Regions from separate parts of the Homo sapiens genome. Here region 1 is linked to region 2. Evidence: promoter capture Hi-C in human tissues and cell types (Jung and others, 2019). All regions are on one chromosome and are shown on one strand. Each heading gives the region's core, a stretch centred on a gene start or on the middle of the fragment in contact. The rest is flanking DNA. Distances are from core to core; before and after follow the strand shown.

Region 1 (4,645 bases), core at 176-2,675, 1.1 Mb before region 2:
CAGTCCTCCGTCTCCTTTTACCCGGCCAGATTCTCCACCATTTGGCCGCTCGCATTCTACGCAGCTGTTCGGAACCCGGGTTCCTGGGCTCCTCACTCAGCTCATTGTCTCTTAGTCTCCTGTCTCTTCGAGGAACAAGGCTCAGCTGGGAGGTCGCAGCCCACCCCAGGTGCATTATAACGTCAGGCGCGTAGGGTGCCGGAGCAAATCTCAGCCCTTTCACGCCAGGGAGGGAGGAGGGATGTTTGGGGGTCAGGACGGCCCGCCAAAACCACCCACGGAAGGTGCATGGATTGAGTTGGCAAGAAAGGCGCCACAGCGGGTTGGATTCAAGGTAGACAGTGGGACTTCCGTGAGGGAGAAGCAGCATGGCTAATAGAGAAAGGTATATTAGAGACCCAGCCTCGACTGAGAGGTCGAAATAGGTACAGAGAAGCAGAGACTGAAACACGGAACTCTTGTTTATTCGGCTCTGGGCGTCAGTGTTCTTCGCCCAGCCTGGTCCCGTGTGCTTCTAGGTCCAACCTAGTCGCAGCCCGGGGAGGGACTGGGGAAGACGGTTTCAGGGGCTGGAGTTAGGGGAGAAGAAATGTGGAGTAGAAGCTCCAACATACAGATAGGCAAACTGAAGCCGAGGAGGGGACGAGCCGTGCCCGAGGTCACCCAGCGAGCTGGGCACTGCGCTAGCCCCCTCGCTGCAGGCCGGAATCCTGGGAACCGAGCCGGGCTTCCGCCTCGCGCCACCGGCGGCGCCCATAGCTGTAGGGGTCCTGGGGCTCGTGGCTGGCCTTCCCCGAGGGCTCCTTGGTGGAGACAGCGAATCCAGTATATGATCTCCGCCAGGCGGTGGGTCCGGCATACGCCCAGGTAGCAGACGTGCCCGCGGTGCTGGGGGACCTGGTGCTGGCCTCGCCTGGAGAGGGAGCGTGGGAGAAAACCGGGTTCAAACCGAATTGAGAGATGGAGCGTGATGGAGGTGGGCACCCAAGCACTCCAAGACCAGCGGGGAGGCTTACAGATCACCTGCCCGTTCCGCGGCCGGGAGAGGGCGCTCGCCCTTTACGGTCTCCCTCCCGCCCTGTCCCTGCTGCCACCCGGGTTTCTCACCTGGCTGCAGTGTCCAGGTCCCCTTGGGCGGAGAAGGCGAGGAGCAACAGCAGGATGAGGATGTGGATAGTCATCGTGGGCAGGGCGGGTCAGGATCCGTGGCCCGTAGTTGCGGCCACCCCGCCCCGTTCCCGCACCGGGCTGATCGCCTCTGGGTGCAGCTCTGGAGCCAGGTACCAGGGCCAGTCCCCACTTCCCAGGCGGGGAACACTGAGGCCAAAAGTCTGTGGGAAGAGGCCGCACCACACCAGAGGGGCAGGATTCAAACCCGGGTCCCCGCTTCCCGCACCGCGGCTCCAGAGACCTCACTGGGTGTGTGGGGTCACACCAGCTGCTGTCTATCCCCCTAGGAGGTCTGTGGAGACTCGCCCCCTTCAAAGCGTGGGGAAATGGGGCGGGGCCAATGACACCCGCAGGTAGCTAAGCAGCGGGATTCCAAGAAAAGGGGTGGCGGCGGGGAAGCGCTGGCTCTGGTTGTAGATGCGACCTCACCCTCACCCTGTCGGGAAGCCGGTTAGTAGACAGTTGGGACCCTGGAACCTCGGGGGCCAGGCAATGCAGGGCAAGTGCACATGCGGCCCCCTGGAGGGCGTGGAGCGAGGGAGACCCCAAACACACTGAGGAGCGCCCCTCCGGAAGAGAAAAGGCCGAGGTGTCAGGCACTCGCCGGTGAGGGCTCCAGTTGCACTGAAGCAGGTGTAGCCAGGGCTGTTCAACGAGGAGGGTGTCCTGGGTCAACCAGGTCGAGTGCACAGTATTGTGGGGGACCCAGGACCCCGTGGCCAGGCCCTGAGGGTGGAAGGGTGGGTGCAGACGCCATGTCTGCAGCAGAGGCAGAGGGACCTCGTCTTCACCTCTGTAAGATGGGTAGGCCCTGCCACCTTACAGCTGCAACTCCCACTGACCTCCATGGAGGGCAAGTCCCCAGCCCTAAGCCCCAAGCCATTCTAGGGGAGGAAGCAGGGCCACTCCCCCATGAGAAATTCTATCCTTGCAAACATACACCCCCAACCCACTCAGTGTCCCCAGCTGCAGAGGGCTGGGCACAGTTGGGCCTTGAAGGGACCCGAACAGGAAAAAACAGCCAGAGAGGAACAATGTCGAGTGTTGGGGGGAGGTGGGGAGACTGTTCTGGGAAACTTGAGGGCTGGCTGTGCTGGAAAGCCACCCCCATCCCCTACTAGGCAGGACACGGGTACCGCAGAGGGGAGGGGCGCAGACCCAGGAGAGGGATGAAAAGAGTTGGACAAAGACCCTGAGAGACAGCTGTGGAGGACAGGGACCCCGAGAAGGAACCAAGGAAGGGGAGCAAGAGGCCTAGAGACGGGGGACGGGAGACGCAGATCCACAGAATGGCAGCCACCAGCAGGTGCCAAGGCCGGTCCCCCCACTGCTGAGGCTGGCACTGCAGTACCTGCGAAAGGAACCCCAAACCTCCTTTGCCCCCAGGAAACAAAGCCAGACCCCAGCTGAGGATTTATTGGCGTAAATGCAACCATATAAAAACATAAGTTATGAAAAACACAGTCACGATGTGCCCTCCCCATCCCCCCAGCCCAGGCCCCTAAAACCCCCTTCTGCGGGAGGGAGGGAGAGGAAGGGGGAGCCCCGAAACCGCCTAGGAACGCTCAGCCCCTGGGCTCGTGCAGGGCGGGAGAGCCGGGCCTCAGCGCATCCGGTAGTCGGTGGAGCAGGACAGCTCGCACAGCTGGCCCTTGAAGTCCAGGTCGATGGTGAAGTCCAGGTCCCGCTGCAGGGAGAGGTGGGGCATGAGGGCGGAACCCACCAGGAGGTGGTGGCGGGGGGCGGGTGCAGGCAGGCTATGCGACGATGAGCCGGGCTCCAGCTTCCTGCCCATCTCCACGCTGCAGACCCCAACTGCTGGTCCCACCCTAGCAGCTGCCCTGACCCTGCCAAGGGACAGCACCACATGGACACCCCCAAGCCCACTAGACTCACTCAGGAGTAGAGCCCAGCTGCTGTCCCTTGCCCTTGGATTTCTCCATCAGGATGATTCCCATCAGCAATGCAGTGATTGCTTCTTTCATAAAAAAGAAAACCTCTCCCAAGCCCACTTCCTCCTCAGGCAAACGTTCCAGTGAAACACAATGGTCCAGCCTGCTGTCTCCACTTCCTCTCCTCCCCCCATACCCTCCAGCACATGAAGATGAGACAAAGTCACCAACGCCCGAGGACTCCTCCTCCCTCTCCAGTATCCGTTTCCCAGCTAGTGCCGTGGTCCCGGGGGCTGCATGAGTCTTTGTAGGGGGTGGTCCTGTGGCTGCAGGACATTTACCAGCCCCCTGGCCCCTACCTACCAGATGCCAGGACCACCCCTTCTCCGGAGTGACAACCACAAATGTTTCCACAGACGGTGGCAAACGTCCTGGGGGGGGGCGGGGAGCGGAGGGGGCAGTAAAACTGCCCAGTTGACAACTGCTGCTGTCACAGGCTCGTGGGTGTCCCAGGGTCCACATTCCATGACTACCCTGAGTGCCACCCACCCTCGCACCCATCGGCCGGGACCCACTTTTCCAACCCAGACCACTCCCGGCGACTCCAGGCTCCAAGCCTTCCATCCTCCTGCCTGCTCAGACCCACCACACTGGATCTCTGCCCAGACCCTGTCTCCGAGAAGCCCCCCCAGCTCCCCCGGAAGCCCCCTGATCTCAGGTGATGGCAGCTCCTGCCAAGTGCTCAGGAGGAAAAAGAAAGGGGAGCAGAAAACAAAAAGCTGCCTTTCTCCTCTCATGCCTCCCAGCTGGGCTAGAAAACCCCGTGCACTCTACTGGGGGCTGCCTCTTGCCCTGGAGCCCACCTACACCAACACCTGTCTGCCCTGCTCCCAGCCTGACAGAGGTCACCTCCAACTGGCATCACCATGTCACTGACCCCCTTGTCTAGAGTGGAAGCACCAGGAGGGCAGGGTTTCAGCCTGGGTCCCCAGGCCCATAACTTCCGGTGAATGCTCAAGCAATCCTGCTGTGTAGACAGGCATGGGGCTGAGGGGCTTGGGGACCCGGGAATAGGCAGAGGTGCTCGCCCCCGCCAGCTGCCCCCATCCCCCACCCCGGCTGCCCCCATCCCCTACCCCCGCTGCCACCATTCCTCCCCCACCACTCCCCCCCCAATCTACACTCCCCGCCCTAGCTGCCACCCTCCCACCCAGCTGCCCGGAGCCTCACGTTGTTCTTGGCGTTGGGCCGCATGCCGATGGTGCCGAAGATCTCCTCGCCCGTCTTCACGGTCAGGTAGTCCTCCATGTAGAACACCGTCTGCTTCCAGTGCGTGTACGGGGACTCGGGGCCTGGGGGCGCGGGCGGGTCAGCCGGCCTCGGCCTGCTGCCCCCCCCAACCCCACCCTTGCGTTCCCTCTGTCGGAATGCCCACCCCCATGACAGCTGATGGGACTGCTATCCGCGAGTCACCTCCCTGTCATTGAGCTTTGGAGACAGGGACCGTGTCAGCCTTTTGTGGATGAGGAAACTGAGGCACTGCACACTCAGGTCACTTGCCCAAGGCCACGTGACTGCTACAT
Region 2 (4,989 bases), core at 258-2,757:
AGTCCCAGCTACTCAGGAGGCTGAGGTGGGAGGATTGCTTGAGCCCAGGAGGTAGAGGCTGCAATGAGCCAAGATTGCACCACTGCACTCCAGCCTGGGCAGCAGAGCAAAACCCTGTTTCAAAAAGAAAAAGAGAGAACAATACACAGCTTTTGGACCCCACTGCCATTCATCGTGCCTGGAACAGGACCTGAGAATCTGCATTTTCAGGAAGTTCCCACTTGCTGCTGCTGCTGTTTCTGGTCCAGGGACCACACTTTGAGAATGATTGGAGTTGAGACCAGGATGTTTGAAATGTTTGAAAGAGTGTTTACCTTCCCAGCTTGGTGTGAGGATTCAGTGGCACGTAACGTAAGACAGGCTTGGCCAGGTGCCGTGGCTCATACCTGTAATCCCAGCACTTTGGGAGGCTGAGGTGGGAGGATCACTTGAGCCCAAGAATCCGAGACCACCCTGGGCAACATAGCTGGACCTTATCTCTACAAAAAGAAAAAAAAAAAAAGGAAAAGAAAAAGAAAAGAAAACAAAGAATGCTCCATGAACATCAGCTGTCATTTATTATGATATATATATATTTTTTACCATATTTCATGGACTCTAAAGTGCTACCAATGGAGAGAAGCATCCTGATTGAGATGTGAGAAGCTCTGCGTCTTAGAACCAGTGGAACAGAGTAATACAATCAAACCCACGGGCCGTGCTCCCCTGCCGCTCAGTCAGGCCTGGGGATGCTTCCCCTAGCACCGGGCTCCTGGTGGACAGCCTTAGAAGGGATGAAGCCAGGGCCGCAAGAGGTTGTCCAGGGCCTCTCTGGCCATTTAGTGGGGGAAGGACATGGGGACATGGGGAGTGGCGGATCTGGGAGAACAGTCCCAGGCCCTGTCCTCCCTGTTGGTCACAGCAAACGTGGAGGAAGCAGCATACCCAGCCCCAGTGCCAGGCTGGTGGTGGCCCCCACTGTCTGGCTGCTCGGGGCTCTGTTACACAGGCGGCCGGTGCAGCAGTTGGTGGTGAGGCTGTAGGTGACGCCCCTGTAGCTGACGGGTTCCTCAAGGCCGCAGCTGGTGGCTCGCAGGCAGCCTTTGTTGATGACCGGACCAGTGCCCGGGGCGACCCCGTGGCCTGTGAAGCAGTCCTCGTCATCGCCACAGTGCATGTAGGTACCAGGACACTGCATGGAGTCGGTGAGCTCACAGAAGACGCAGTCCTTGACGCCCGTCGTGCCTGGGGGCAGAGCCATCACCAGAAGCAGCAGCCAGCACAGGACCATGGCGGCCTGGCGGCGTTGACCCTGCCCCAGCCAGGCCGTGGGCTTCCCAGACCTCCCGGAACCGCTGAATGAAGGACCTCTGAGGACTCCTCTTGCCCACGGGACTTTGGCCCTGGTCCTGGCCTCCCAGGGTCAGCGCCTGGAGTGTCCTCTGTTCCCAACGCCCTGCGTCCCTCTAAGTCCTGGGGATGGAGGTGAGCGGGTGGCTGCTGCCCAACAAGAGTCTGTGAATGGAATGAGTGATCTCACAGATCCCTCAGGGTTCCCACTGGCCGCTCTGGGGATGAGGTCATAGGTGAGAGGAGTGGGTGTCACAATCCAAGGGGTGGCCTGCCCCGCCGACCTGCCGGGGCGCAAGAGGGCTCTGCCATCCCTGCCAAGGTGAAGACGCCCTGAACCCAGAGGACGCTGGCCACAAGCTTGTCCGCATTCTCTGTGCTGTACACCCGCCAAGGGCTTGACTTCAGCCTCACACCTCCCATAGTGACCCCATATTCCAGATGGGTAAACTAAGGCTGGGGAAAGTGATGTATCCAGGGTCCCCGAGCCAGGATGAGAGCCAGGTTCATTGAATTCCAAAGAGGCTGGGAAAGAAGAGGGTGTATTAACTGAGCACTTGCTGTGTGCCAGGATTCATGCTCAGTGCTTGCTTGCTTTTATTTTTTTGAGACGGAGTCTCTCACTCTGTCACCCAGGCTGGAGTGCAGTGGCGTGATCTCAGCTCACTGCAGCTTCTGCTTCCCAGCTTCAAGCGATTCTCGTAACTCAGCCTCCCGAGTGGCTGGGACTGCAGGCGCATGCAACCACATCTGGCTAATTTTTGTATTTTTAGTAGAGACAGGGTTTCACCATGTAGGCCAGGCTGGTTGCGAACTCTTGAGCTCAAGTGATCTGCCCGCCTCGACCTCCCAAAGTGCTGGGATTACAGACGTGAGCCACCACACCACGCCTGGCACTTGGTGCTTTCAATAACAACTACTGTGATGACAGGAAGTGTTAGGGCACCGGCCCCCACAGCTCACAGGCTCTCAGGGCCAGCTACGTGCAGGGGGCTTGATTCAAATTCAGTCATTTGAATATTCCTATGTTGTATTTATTTCTTAATTTTATTTTTTATTTTAAAAAATTGGCCGGGCGCAGTGGCTCACGCCTGTAATCCCAGCACTTTGGGAGGCCGAGGCGGGTGGATCACCTGAGCTCAGGAGTTCAAGACCAGCATGGCCAACGTGGTAAAACCCCATCTCTACTAAAAATACAAAAATTTGCTGGGCATGGTGGTGTGCACCTGTAATCCCAGCTACTTGGGAGGCTTGAACCTGGGAGGTGGAGGTTGCAGTGAGCCAATATTGTGCCACTGCACTTGAGCCTAGGCAATAGAGCAAGACTCCATCTCAAAAAAAAAAAAAAATAGGATCTTGCTCTGTTGCCTAGACTGGAGTGCAGTGGCGCGATCTTGGCTCACTGCAGCCTCAACTTCCCAGGCTCAAGTGATTCTCCTCCCTGAGCCTCCAGAGTAGCTGGGACTATAGGCGTGCACCACCATGCCCGGCTAATTTTGTAAAATTTTTTATAGAGATGGGGTCTTGCTATGTTGCCCAGGCTGGTCTCAAACTCCTAGCCTCAAGTGATCCTCCTGCCTCGGCCTCCCAAAGTGCTGGGATTACAGGCATGAGCCACTGCACACGGCCTTCCTAGGTTTTTGCTCCAGATTGCAGATGAGCACTGCAGGGAGCAGCAACGTGGAGAGCTTGGTGCACAGCCAGGACTGACTAAATGGCAGTCATTCTAGGAAGCAGCTGGGTCTTAAAACAATCCCTGTTAGTGTCCGGAAGTGAATTCCGTCTCTTTCCAAAGGGGAAAACTGAGGCATTGAGGTGTTCCTAAGTGGGGACCAGGCAGAGCCTGGGTTTAAACTCCAGTCTGATTCCAGATAAGTTTTTTTTTTTTTTTTTTTTTTTTGAGTCAGAGTCTCGCTCTGTCGCCCAGGTTGGAGTGCAGTGGTGTGATTTCAGCTCACTGCAACCTCCACCTCCCGGGTTCAAGCAATTCTCCTGCCTCAGCCTCCTGAGTAGCTGGAATTACAGGCATGTGCCACCATACCCAGCTAATTTCTGTATTTTTAGTAGAGATGGGGTTTCACCATGTTGGTCAGGCTGATCTCAAACTCCTGACCTCATGATCTGCCCGCCTCAGCCTCCCAAAGTGCTGGGATTACAGGAGTGAGCCACCGCATCTGGCTTTTTTTTTTTTGGGAGGGGGGCGAGGGGGACAGGGTCTTGCTTTGCTGCCCAGGCTGGAATGCAGTGGTATTATCACGGCTCACTGCAGCCTCAATTTCCCAGGCTCAGCCGGGCACGGGTGGCTCACACCTGTAATCCCAGCACTTTGGGAGGCCGAGGCGGGTGGATCACCTGAGGTCAGGGGTTCGAGACCAGCCTGGCCAATGTGGTGAAACCCCATCTCTACTAAAAATACAAAAAATTAGCCGGGCATGGCGGCAGGTGCCTGTAATCCCAACTACTCAGGAGGCTGAGGCAGGAGAATTGCTTGAAGCCAGGAGGCAGAGGTTGCAGTGAGCCGAGATCATGCCACTACACTCCAGCCTGGGCAAAAAGAGCGAAACTCCGTCTCACAAAAAAAAAAAAAAAAAAAAAAATCCCAGGGTCAAGGGATCCTCCCGCCTCAGTCTCCCAAGTGGCTGGGAGTACAGGTGTGCGCCACCACACCTGGCTAGTTTTTTTGATTTTTTGTAGAGATAGGGTCTCACCATGTTGCCCAGGCTGGTCTGAAACTCCTGGGCTCAAGCAACCCTCCTGCCTCAGCCTCCCAAAGTGTGAGTCACCACACCTGGCCCTGATTATATAAGTGTCTTAACTTGGGCTGTCTTCACTCCACCCCTCCCGAGTAGGTACTTCAGTTGTGCCCATTCTACAGACAGGGAAGCTGAGGCTGGAGAGGTCAGGACTCGCCTGAGGTCCTACGGTCTCCCCTGGGACCTGGCTGAGGATGGGGGCCGGGCTGGGCCCTCAGGGTTGGAGACTCTGACCCCCTACTCCCCGACCCCCAGCTTCACGTGGAGTGACGCACGCCTGCACCGAGGCCTGGTGACCCTGCTGACTGGTGAAATTGTTGACGCCTTCAGCCTTGAGTTCCGGACGCTGTACGCGGCCTCCTGCCCGCTCCCACCTGCGCCCCCCCAGAAACCCTCGGTCATAGGTGGCCTGCAGCGGGGCCGCAGCCCGCACCGCGTGTCCCGCCGCCGCTCCGTGGCCCCCGCGTCGCCTCCGCCGCCTGACGGCCCGCTGGCCCACCGCCTGGCCGCCTGCCGCGTCTCCCCTGCTACCCCGGGGCCGGCACTCAGTGACATTCTAAGGAGTGTGCAGCGCGCCCGGACCCCCAGCGGCCCCCCGGCCCGGCCCAGCCGCTCCATGTGGGACCTAAGCCGCCTGTCCCAGCTGTCTGGCTCCAGTGATGGGGACAACGAGGTGAGACCTTGTGGCTGGTGCCAGAAGATGGAGCCCAGGAAGGGGAAGGCGTTTGCCCAGGGTGGTGCAAGCCAGGCTCCAGGGGCCCTGCTCCCAGCCAGAGCAGGCGTTTCCTGAGGGCCTGCACCCCTAAATTCATAATGGCATCGTTTGTTCATTTCCTGCACGCCTGCTGCATTTTGGGCAGGTGGGCGCTGGGTGGCATGGGGCAGAGACAGGAGAGCCCTGGGTGCA

Evidence for each region. Contacts are between HindIII fragments. The study calls those that stand out against the background at their distance.
Region 1: a contact is called between the fragment with the promoter of ADM5 here and the fragment with the promoter of SPACA4 in region 2, in 1 of the 25 tissues and cell types used here (aorta).

Annotation. Positions count from the first base shown.
Region 1 is chr19:49,686,374-49,691,018 of GRCh38, reverse strand. ADM5 (adrenomedullin 5 (putative)) reads right to left here and starts at 1,425. Exons shown (of 2, transcript NM_001101340.2): 1 at 1,108-1,425; 2 at 444-913. The coding sequence starts at 1,181. The coding sequence ends at 526. PRMT1 (protein arginine methyltransferase 1) reads right to left here. Exons shown (of 11, transcript NM_001536.6): 10 at 4,293-4,414; 11 at 2,572-2,857. The coding sequence ends at 2,774. It also overlaps a transcript of CPT1C not described here. RefSeq lists a silencer at 966-1,035 and enhancers at 2,344-3,084, 3,085-3,826. The HindIII fragment of the contact is 11,781 bases long and covers 1-2,735 here.
Region 2 is chr19:48,603,260-48,608,248 of GRCh38, reverse strand. SPACA4 (sperm acrosome associated 4) reads right to left here and starts at 1,507. Exons shown (of 1, transcript NM_133498.3): 1 at 535-1,507. The coding sequence starts at 1,270. The coding sequence ends at 896. FAM83E (family with sequence similarity 83 member E) reads left to right here. Exons shown (of 7, transcript NM_017708.4): 6 at 4,338-4,755. The HindIII fragment of the contact is 21,490 bases long and covers 1-4,989 here.